2 separate regions of the Homo sapiens genome follow, and region 2 is linked to region 1. Evidence: promoter capture Hi-C in human tissues and cell types (Jung and others, 2019). All regions are on one chromosome and are shown on one strand. Each heading gives the region's core, a stretch centred on a gene start or on the middle of the fragment in contact. The rest is flanking DNA. Distances are from core to core; before and after follow the strand shown.

Region 1 (4,725 bases), core at 1,516-4,015:
GAGATGTGGAGTAAGGGGGCACTGATTTCTATCTGTTCATGAAAGCAGAAGAATTATACCCGGCAACTCTGCACTAGCCTTGAATTCTTGATACTCTGTGTCCTTGAAAGCAATCAAACTTACAAAATATTCTCTCTTGCAAGTCATTTCTGACTAATACAGATTGACACACATTGCATCCAGCTTATTTTCATAAAATTCTGCTGGACTGTATATGACATTATAGACTGAAATCTAGCATCGCCCTAGAGTATTATGGTTTTGGAGGAAAAAGTTCACATAACAATCACTCTGGTTATCATTCAATTCCTTCCTGCTCATACACACTGGTACAAAATAAGTGGCTAAAATCAAAGTGGCCAACTCGTAGTTCTTTTTTAATTTAGACACTTTGTTTGCTCAATAAAATACAGAGTAAAAAACATTTACTGAAAACCCACTCATTGATGTTTAATGGCTGTGTCAAATACTCATAACAACATTTATTCCAACACCCCCAGATAATTGCTCATCTTTCTCATTTGGTATCCACAACAGCACAGCATTTGTGTCCAAGTGTAATTGATCCAAAATTGGGCTCCCTTTCAAAAATATCTGTAAAATCTAATTACCAGGAAAACAGAGTTCTGGCATCCTATGGAAAGTGGGTGCTTCAGTGAAAAAAAGCTGCAAATTCTTCTTGGCTAATCAAGCTGCATTGTGTTACAAAAGGAGTTTGAGGAATTTGGGATAATGAGGGAGCAGGAAAAGTTGGGATAGTGTCAGACTGGACTTTGCAGTGACAGTCCTGGTTTTTTTAAGCCAAGGGCACGGGACGGGAAATATACCACATTCGCTGGCAAGCATGGATTTAGAAAGTACCAGATAAAGAGGCCATGATGGGCTTGGGGTGTGGGGGTGGCATTTCTGATCTCAAGCCCTACCAGGCCTTGCCCAGGGAAGTCTCTCCACCCTTGCCTGGAAGGCTGATGTCATTTCTAGTCTCACTGGGCCTCTAGCCACTGTAGCAGGTCACTTTCCTTCCTTGGGCCTGAGTTTGCTCATCTGTAAAATGAGTGCTCCTAATATCTCTAGGGTCTCTTTCAACTTCAAAATCCTATGACCTTCTATAAAGCAAAGGGCATGCTTTTTGCTCATGTACTTGTGGGGGCAGGGAGCGGGAGCCACCGGACCAAGGAGAATGAAGGACTGAGAGTTTCCACCTCTCACGCAGTTTTGTACCTAGTTTCAACACCCGGGTATCTGGCCCGCTCTGGGAATAATGATTTCTTTCAGCCCAGGACGACCTACCGAGGTGTTTCTACCTCGCTGCCCTGGATTCCTCAACCCCGCCAATGAAGAACAGGGCCAAGCCACCGGACTTCTCGGAGCCTCTCTCCCAGGTCTGGGCACAGTATATCTTCTTTTAAGGGGTCTTCCCTTCCCACTCCCACTCCTCTTTCTGTCCTAGAAGCACCAGAAACTCCGGCTCTAGCCTTGCGCATGGTCCAGCGAGACTTCCCATACAGGCAGCGCACGCCACCCACCCCCAGCTCCCCTCGGCCTTGCGCCCGCGCCGCGGAAGGTTGGGTACCAGCCTCCACAGCTTTGCAGATTGCAAAGATAACGGGAGCTGCCGCTTCGCTTTTCTTTGGCTCCTCCTGGCCTTCATCCTAGTAAAACCAGACAAGCAACCGGAAAAACAAAGCAGCACAGCGGCCAGAGACAATTCGCTTTCAACGGAGCAAGAGACGTACACACCTTGAGAGAAGACGCACGCAGTTCCCGTGCGTGTCGCTGGGAACAGACCTCGCACTACCCCGCGCGGCGACAGGCACCGGGCCAGGCTCGGCTTCACTTGTCCGAGGCTTGGAGGAACTGTGTGCGTGCGCCCATTTCCCCCAGCTTCCCGACTTGACAGCAGCAAGGATCTTTGAGTCCTGCATGAGCGACACCTCGGGCAAGGACTGTACTCTGCTCAGATCTCATCGAGAGGTGCTGGATCCCAGCCTTTCCAGCTCATTTTCCAATTTTCAAGAAAAGACAGCGCGAAGTGAGACTGCAAAAGTCCCAGGAAAACGTCACTCACCAAAACGCTCCCGCGCCTTCCAGGCAGAAGTGCGGTAAAACTTTTGGCAGAAACCACCTGTGGCTGCCGACGGGCCCGCCCCGCTCGGGCCCGCAGGCGCCGCCGAGCCCCGGGCCGCACGCGCCCGCAGAAGTTCCTTTCCAGCCCCGCGCGCCACTTCGCTCCGGGCCGCGGTGCCAGCCAGGAGGCGCGGCGCCCGCTCGCTGGCTCGCTCTCCGCTGGCTCTCCCCTCCCTCCTTCCCTCCCTCCCTCCTCCCGCCTCCTCCGTTGCATGGCTGCCGCACGGAGCCCCTGAATAGCCACCGCAGCCCCCCGCCTCCTGCCCACCGCGCGGAGGGCGCCCCTGCTCCAGCCGGCGCCCCAAGGCGCGCGGACCGCCGGCCTCCTAGCAACGGCCCCCGCAATCGCTTTCCGGCGCAGCCCAAGCAAAGCCACCCGCCCGCCGCCCCGCGACCTCCCGAACTGCCTCGGCTGCCGAGGTGCTGTGGAGATCGCGACCCCGGCAGCCGGCGCCCGAGCCCGGCGCGCGAAGCCGCTCACCTCCGCGCGCCGCCGGCCCTGCGCGCCTCCCGCACTTGGCTCCGGGACGCAGTCCTGGCGTCCTCCTTCGCCGCCGGTGTCCGCCGGTCCCTGCGCGCCCGAGCCTCGCCGGCCGCGCCGCTGTCAGAGTCTCGTGGCGGGGCTGCGCCGGCGGGTATGGAGCTGAGCGGCGGCAGCGGGCGAGCGGGCAGCTCCTCCCTCCCCGCGCCGCGCCTCCGCCCTCCCCGCGCCCCGCCTCCCGCGCCGCGGCTGTCAGCCCCGCGCCCCGCGCCCCGCGCCCGCGCCGCCGGCTCGGGGGGCGCACAGGGCTAAAGGGCCCGGATGTGTGCGGTCGCCTGTCGCTCGCGCCCGCCCCCTCCCCGCCGCGCGGCACATGCACTTGCTGCGCCGCAGCCCCCGCCCGGCTCCGCTAATTTCTATTTTGACAGTAACTGTGGCGAGTGGGCGGCGCGGCGGGGGGCGCCCGGGACTGGCGGAGGCTGCGGGCGGGAGTCAGGACCCGACGCGGAGGCGGAGTGGGGGGGCCGGGCACCGCCACCAACCGCTCGGGGCTCCGCGTCTTTTCTCTTTCTTTCCTTTTTTCTCTCTGCCTCCTCCAGGATTTAAAGGGACAGCCCCGGCAGAGGCGAGGGGGCCAGGCGGCCGCCGTTTCTCCGGTCTCCTGACGCCCTCTGCGGCCCGGCCGGACCCGCCCGCACCCCCAGCGCAGGCTTGGGACCGCCGGGTATTTTTAGGTCCACACCCGACCCGGGGCAGCGGTGCGGCAGAGATGGGCTCTGCCGACCCGGGGCAGCGGTGCGGCAGAGATGGGCTCTGCCGCCCCGGCGCACGGCTATTTTTACAGAGTCCGATGGGGGAGGAAATAAAACAACTCGGCAACTGCTTTTCTACCCGAAAGTCGGGAGCAAGGAGTGGGGGCGAGAAGTTAAGTTTCCCAAATGCTCTCGGCACTCCAGCGAGCGCACCAAGACGCCTAGCCAGCACCTGAAACCGCAAGCTTGCCGCACCCCGGGGCGCCGAATCTCAGCGGGCAATCGCGCTCGGCGGCGCTGCGGCCCGGAGTCCCCACCCCTCTGGAGCCTTGGGCCCCGCACTCCGCACCCCACACGCCGGGGAGCAGCCGCTGGCCGCCCGTCACTCCCCGGGTCGGCCTGGAAGGCGGCCTTCCGAAGCGTCCAATCACCGCGCAACAATGCCAACGGGCGGGCCCGGGGAGGGCTTGTCCCCGCCCCGTCCCGCCGGGCCCCGCCCCCTCGGAGTCTGTCGGGGCAGGAGAATCTCGCTGGGACGCCGAGTGCTCAGCGGTGCTGGAAGCCACGAAGGGCCAGTGCGAGGGGAGGAGGAAGGGTCCTGGCCCTGGAGAGGGCGTGAGCGTTCTCGGGCGAGGCGACACTTGGGCAGATGTTCCCTCCAGCTACGGGCCGGGGAAACTCGAGCTGGCTTTGCCTCCTACCTTTTTGCAGTCCACCCCTCTGCGCTCCAGACAGACATAGGAACCCTCGCCCTCCTTGGTAGTACATCGGAGGCAGCACCCTCGCACGTCAGCGGGTCCTCTCCGGGGCTCCTCCCTCAGAAGCGGGAAAGTTTGTCGTCCTCAAACTCCTACCCGGCTGCGCTTATCTGAGGCGCACCTGGCGCCCAGGAGAGGCGAGATGGCGAATCCCGGCCGCCTAGTGCCCATTCTGGCTACGGATTAATAAAAGGGCAGTGGGGCTGCTGCTGTGTCCTTTAATGCTGAAGACACTGGATGACATTTTTTACAGAATTCACAAAAATAAGTTTGTGAACCTTTGGTGCCTCTTCCTAATATCACTTATTGGGATTTTTTTTTAAACCATTTCATTCATTCGTGTAATAAACGCACATTGCAAGATAGTACGTTGGGAGTAGTGAAAACAAGGGAAAACGGGCTCTGGAATAGGATGTAAGAGTGGAAAACTAGATATGAATAGAGGGATCTGAAACGTAGGGTTTGGGTACAATTATGTCACGTTTAATTTGCCAAAGAGATCTGGTTTTTCCTACTAAGTAAATTTCACCAAATGAACAGTTTGGACAGCCATCTTATCCAAACTATTCAAATGCACATGTAAATCTAGGATAGTCTATCGTGGAAC
Region 2 (4,725 bases), core at 1,046-3,545, 34 kb after region 1:
AAATCTGTGTTCCTTTTGTACACTTTTAAAGTCACATCTGGTGCTGACCTTAGAAACAGCACTTGTGTGCTGAATGAATGCAGTGTGACTGCGTGTGCTCAGGGTTTTGGGACTTCTCTGAAAGGCGCTCCCAACCCTCCCAAACTGGCACAGGATGTCCGGCCGTGGTCGGCTTCCTCCACCGCGGCAGAGGATGCCAACTGAAACACGACCTCCTGCCAAGACTCTGGGACCACGCTCAGATCCAGGTCCCTGGGGGCAAAAGGCAGCTCTGTGCCAAGTTCTCCAAAGCCCGGCTCCTCCCGGGCTCTCATCCTGAAAGTGCTCTGGCCTCCTCTTTGGAAAAGGCCCATCAATCTTCTGAGGATTTCTGACACCGGTCGGAGCGCTGGAAACTGCAAGCCCTTCTCAGTCTGTCAGCTGCCTCACACTCTCCAGCCCGGCGAAGCTGTGTGCAGTGTCTGGAAAAGCAGTTACTGGTTTGGTTGTGGTCTGCCTTTGCAGCTGAGCTGGTTCCAAGTGCCACGTCCTCCACCGGCTGCTCTGGCCCAGGACACTCAGGAAAGGTGACAAGGCGGCCCCCTTGCACACTTGCCTGGAGCTATGCTCCCTCCATTTCTTGGAATCCAAGTATATTTTCTTTTGTGGAATGAATGAATACAAAGGGTGCCACCCCTTTGCCCAGCCCCCCATCTGAAATTCTTCCTCCAGCTGTCTCGATAGCGATGCTTGACAGACTGGAGGAGAATAGTTTGAATGAAGCTTCCCAGTGCAATATTTCCCTGGGCTTGAGTTGAATTGATCTAGCCTGTGATGCCATTTATCTTCACAACCTTCTTAGAGAGGAGCAGGGGAACAAATCTCTTTCGTTCGCATATGGGGAAACTGAGACTAAGGGAAGCTACAGAGACAACTGTAGGGAAAAAGCCAGCAGAGCAGGGCCAATCTGAGAAAATGCATGCTGATGAGATAGTCTTTTCCTGAGGGATTTACACAATCACTGGGCATAGAGGACAACATGGGAGGGGACTTAGGAAGAACTGGAGATGGGCCCCCTTACAAAATTCGTTTGGGTGAACTCAAATTTAAACGTGCACCCCCACCTCCAAGTCTGGTACTCTTGTGCTGGTGCCCCAAAACCTAGGACAGGAGATGGCAGCTCCAGCGAGGTTTCCCTGATCACTCCTGTCCCCATCCAGCCCTCCCCTCTAAGCTATTCTCTCAATCACAGCCTGAACCACCCTTCCTTCTTTATGGTTTTTTACTGTTTTCAAATTCATGTTGGTCTTCTCTCACTCAGCTAGATTACTTGCTGCTTCTCAAGGGATGGACTGTGCCCTAGATTTTAGAAACCCCAACCCTTCTGGGTTTTCTCTTTGTTTTCTCACTGTTTGCCAAATGATGGTGTCACACACACAGCCCCAGGGGCAGGATCAAAGAAGGCAGTCACTTGGGACTTGGGGGAAAGCAGTCTTGTTTTCCATGAGAAACAACCAGGGGGAGAAAAAAATCAATGTCTGAAATAACTGTTGAGAAAGAAGTGTGGCTTTCTCTTGGAGTCATAGAAAGTGGTTCTGATGTCAGCCTCACACGTAAGAGAATGGATCCAGGGTGAATCCCTAGTAGCTGGCTGAGGCTGACTCAACCCACAGGGAGCTGCCCAGCACATCAAGTATGTGGATTCTCCAGCAGCTACTCCTGCCAGAAACTTCTACCTGTGCCTATTATGCCCATGGCCCCATGATCTCCTGGAACAGCAACCCGAGGGGCCTACCTACCATGTTTCAGCCTCACAGCCAGCCAATTTCACCTCCCTGGCACTACCCATAGTAAATGCCATGAAGGAGACTCAGACTCAGGGGACCACAAATCTGCCCCATCTTGAGCAAATGATTTCCATTCTCTGGCTCTTGGTGTTAGTATCTTTGTAAAACAAAAAAATCAGACTAGCTGATCTGTGAGGGACCCTCTACCTCCAAAACTGCATTGTCTAGACTGGCAGGGAGTGTGTGGGTTTGGTTCTTATTTGGTTGGTTATCTTGTGTATGTCTTGGCCCATGCATGGCCACTTTGGCCCAGGGTGGAGAGCATCATTATCTACACCAAGTACTCTGTAACTAGAGAGTGACTATGTTGCTCCCCTCCAGGGAGGCCAGGGGTGGGCCTAAGGCATCCCAAAAGATGTGTGAAATGTCTTTGAAGTCAATAATTTCCCTTAGAAATTCATGTATATTTTGCATTCTTTTCTATATTATTACTGAGTTGCTTAATATAGGAATTTTTGTCCCCAAATCTTAGGATAAAGTGACCCTCCAGGAGGATGCTTCTTGCTAAAAGAAGCTTGTTTGAGCTTCCTGTAATGAACTGCTACATACTCCTGAAACGGGTTTAAGAAGCACTAATCTGGCCAGGCATGGTGGCTCATGCCTGTAATCCCAGCACTTCGGGAGGCCGAGGCAGGCAGATCATGAAGTCAGGAGATTGAGACCATCCTGGCTAACATGATGAAACCCTATCTCTACTAAAAACACAAAAAAATTAGCCAGGCGTGGTGGTGGGCACCTGTAGTCCCAGCTACTTGGGATGCTGAGGCAGGAGAATGGCATGAACCCAGGAGGTGGAGGTTGCAGTGAGCCAAGGTCACGCCACTGCACTCCAGCCTGGGTGACAGAGCAAGACTCCGTCTCAAAACAAAAACAAAAACAAAAACAAAAACAAAAAAACAAAAAAGAAGCACTAATAAGCACTAATCTGTGGGTGTTTGCAGGAACACCCAGGGCTGAAAATTCATCTTTTGATCCATCCAGGAATCCCTTCTCAGATATTCATCCTTTTCTGTTAAAATGCAAATTCCCTTGGGAAGGGGCTAAAAGTTAGAAAAAAACTGAGACAAATACAAAATTCTTTACTTGTGTCTGAGAGTCAATTACAGCAGGACAGTCCGTGGCTCTTTGGATCAGCAGTGGCTGGTGGCTGAGGATTTTGGTAAACTTCAGTTGAGTCAACACTGTGATTTGACTGTGTCCTTCAGAGCAAGAAGGACTTAGTCTCAGCACTAAGCAGGCCTCCTGGAGAACTGCATTCAGAGCTGGAACCATATGTCAGAGGGATTTGGACTAAACAGCAATGATCTGGACAGAGATCACGGACGTATGTCACATGGGGAATGAATGGAGAGATCAGGATGGGAGTGGGCTGGGAGATGCTCCCAATAGTCATCATGGGAATGGGTTTTTGATTTGTGTAGCTCCAAAGGGCAGAACCTAGACTAGCACTCCTGCATTTTAGGAGTGCAGATTTTAGCTCAGCAGAGGGAAGCCCAGCACCTTGTGAAATGGGGATGGGCTGCCTCTGTAGAAAGAGGGTGCCCTGGTCCTGGGAGAGTCCTCCTATCAGTGGGGTGCTGGAGGGTCACTGGGTTATGGGATCCTTTAAAAGGGTGAGGTGCACATGGAAACACAGCTTCTAGATCCCCTTCAGGGAAGGGCTCGCTATCCAGCTGTGGGGAGTGTGGTCCGCAGAAAGCCTCCAGGGTCAGCTCTTCAGGGTTGGCCTCCCCTGCAGGGAGCCTCCTCTCCTGGGGCACTTGCATCTGGTGACTGAGAGAGGTCTGGACAAGCACAGAAGCCTGGACATCTAGGCAAGAGCTAGGCTGGCTAAGGCTTTGTTTGGTCTGCCTCCCTGTTTGATGTCTTCTTCTGTACCCCAAACTCCATCCCAGTGTGTACTTGGGAAAAACTCTACCTGAGACAAAAGCATACAACATGGGATGGGTCATCCTGAGATTCTAGGGATCCTACTATTATTCGTCACTTACACCTGATTGTGAATAAATTCACTGAAATCTTTGCAGGGAACAAGTTTATACAGGTGTAGCTTAAGGAAACGAAAGGGAAAAGAGTCACAAGACAAGTAGGTTAAGAGATAAGGGACTGAAGTTTATGCTTTAAATGTGTGGATTATATCTCAATAAAATGTTCTTTTTTTAATGTTTAAAGAGAGAGAGAGAGAGAATGAAGCTGATCTAAGATGTCCAGACCCTCCCAGGCTGTGCTAGGGTACAGGTACTCTAGCACTGCAGCTGGGTATCAAGAACTGGAAGGACTTGTGCAGGACCCTTGGCTTCTCAGCAAGGCTGTCCCCACGAAGCAGATTTCACATACCCATAGCACACCCAAGGCATGGCTAGCATCCCTTGGGGGCTCTGCTGGCCCCACCATCACCACAGTGAAGCAAGGAGGAGCTCTCCTGCCAGCCACATCCCAAGGCTGCTATTGTGTCCTCCTCCAGCAGGGGTCAGCAGACTGTTTCTGTAAAGGGCCAGAGAGCAAACATTCAGTGTAGGTGGGGCAATATGGTCTCTGTTGCAACTGCTTAACCCTGCTGCTGTAGCACAAAAGCAGACATAGATAGTAAGTAAATGAATGTGCATAGCTGTGTTCCAATAAAACTTTACTTACAAAAACAGGCAACGGACCAGATTTGGCTTAGGTATATAGTTTGCTGACCGCCGTCCTAAAATCATGGACCTGCCTAGTTGGAAATAATCCCAGGCCACAGAACAGGAAGGTTTTCTCTACTTGGAATCCACAAAAGCATCATGTTTCTTGTCTTCCAGGCTTTGCTGGAGAAATGGAACCAAATGTTCTATATATGTTTGACATACATTAAAGTTCAACTGGGAACAGAGATTCACAGGATATGGTTCCTGCTCTTCAGGTCCCC

The links. Contacts are between HindIII fragments. The study calls those that stand out against the background at their distance.
Region 2: a fragment that was not itself captured here is called in contact with the fragment with the promoter of ZBTB7C in region 1 in 3 of the 25 tissues and cell types used here (heart left ventricle, liver and stomach).

Annotation. Positions count from the first base shown.
Region 1 is chr18:48,406,618-48,411,342 of GRCh38, forward strand. It overlaps ZBTB7C (zinc finger and BTB domain containing 7C), which reads right to left and starts at 2,766. Exons shown (of 5, transcript NM_001318841.2): 1 at 2,609-2,766. RefSeq lists enhancers at 1,047-1,666, 1,667-2,284 and a silencer at 3,555-3,934. The HindIII fragment of the contact is 7,054 bases long and covers 206-4,725 here.
Region 2 is chr18:48,441,366-48,446,090 of GRCh38, forward strand. No RefSeq gene overlaps it. Among named protein-coding and RNA genes, the nearest start is that of ZBTB7C, 34 kb to the left of the region's middle. RefSeq lists an enhancer at 4,173-4,467. The HindIII fragment of the contact is 5,648 bases long and covers 1-4,725 here.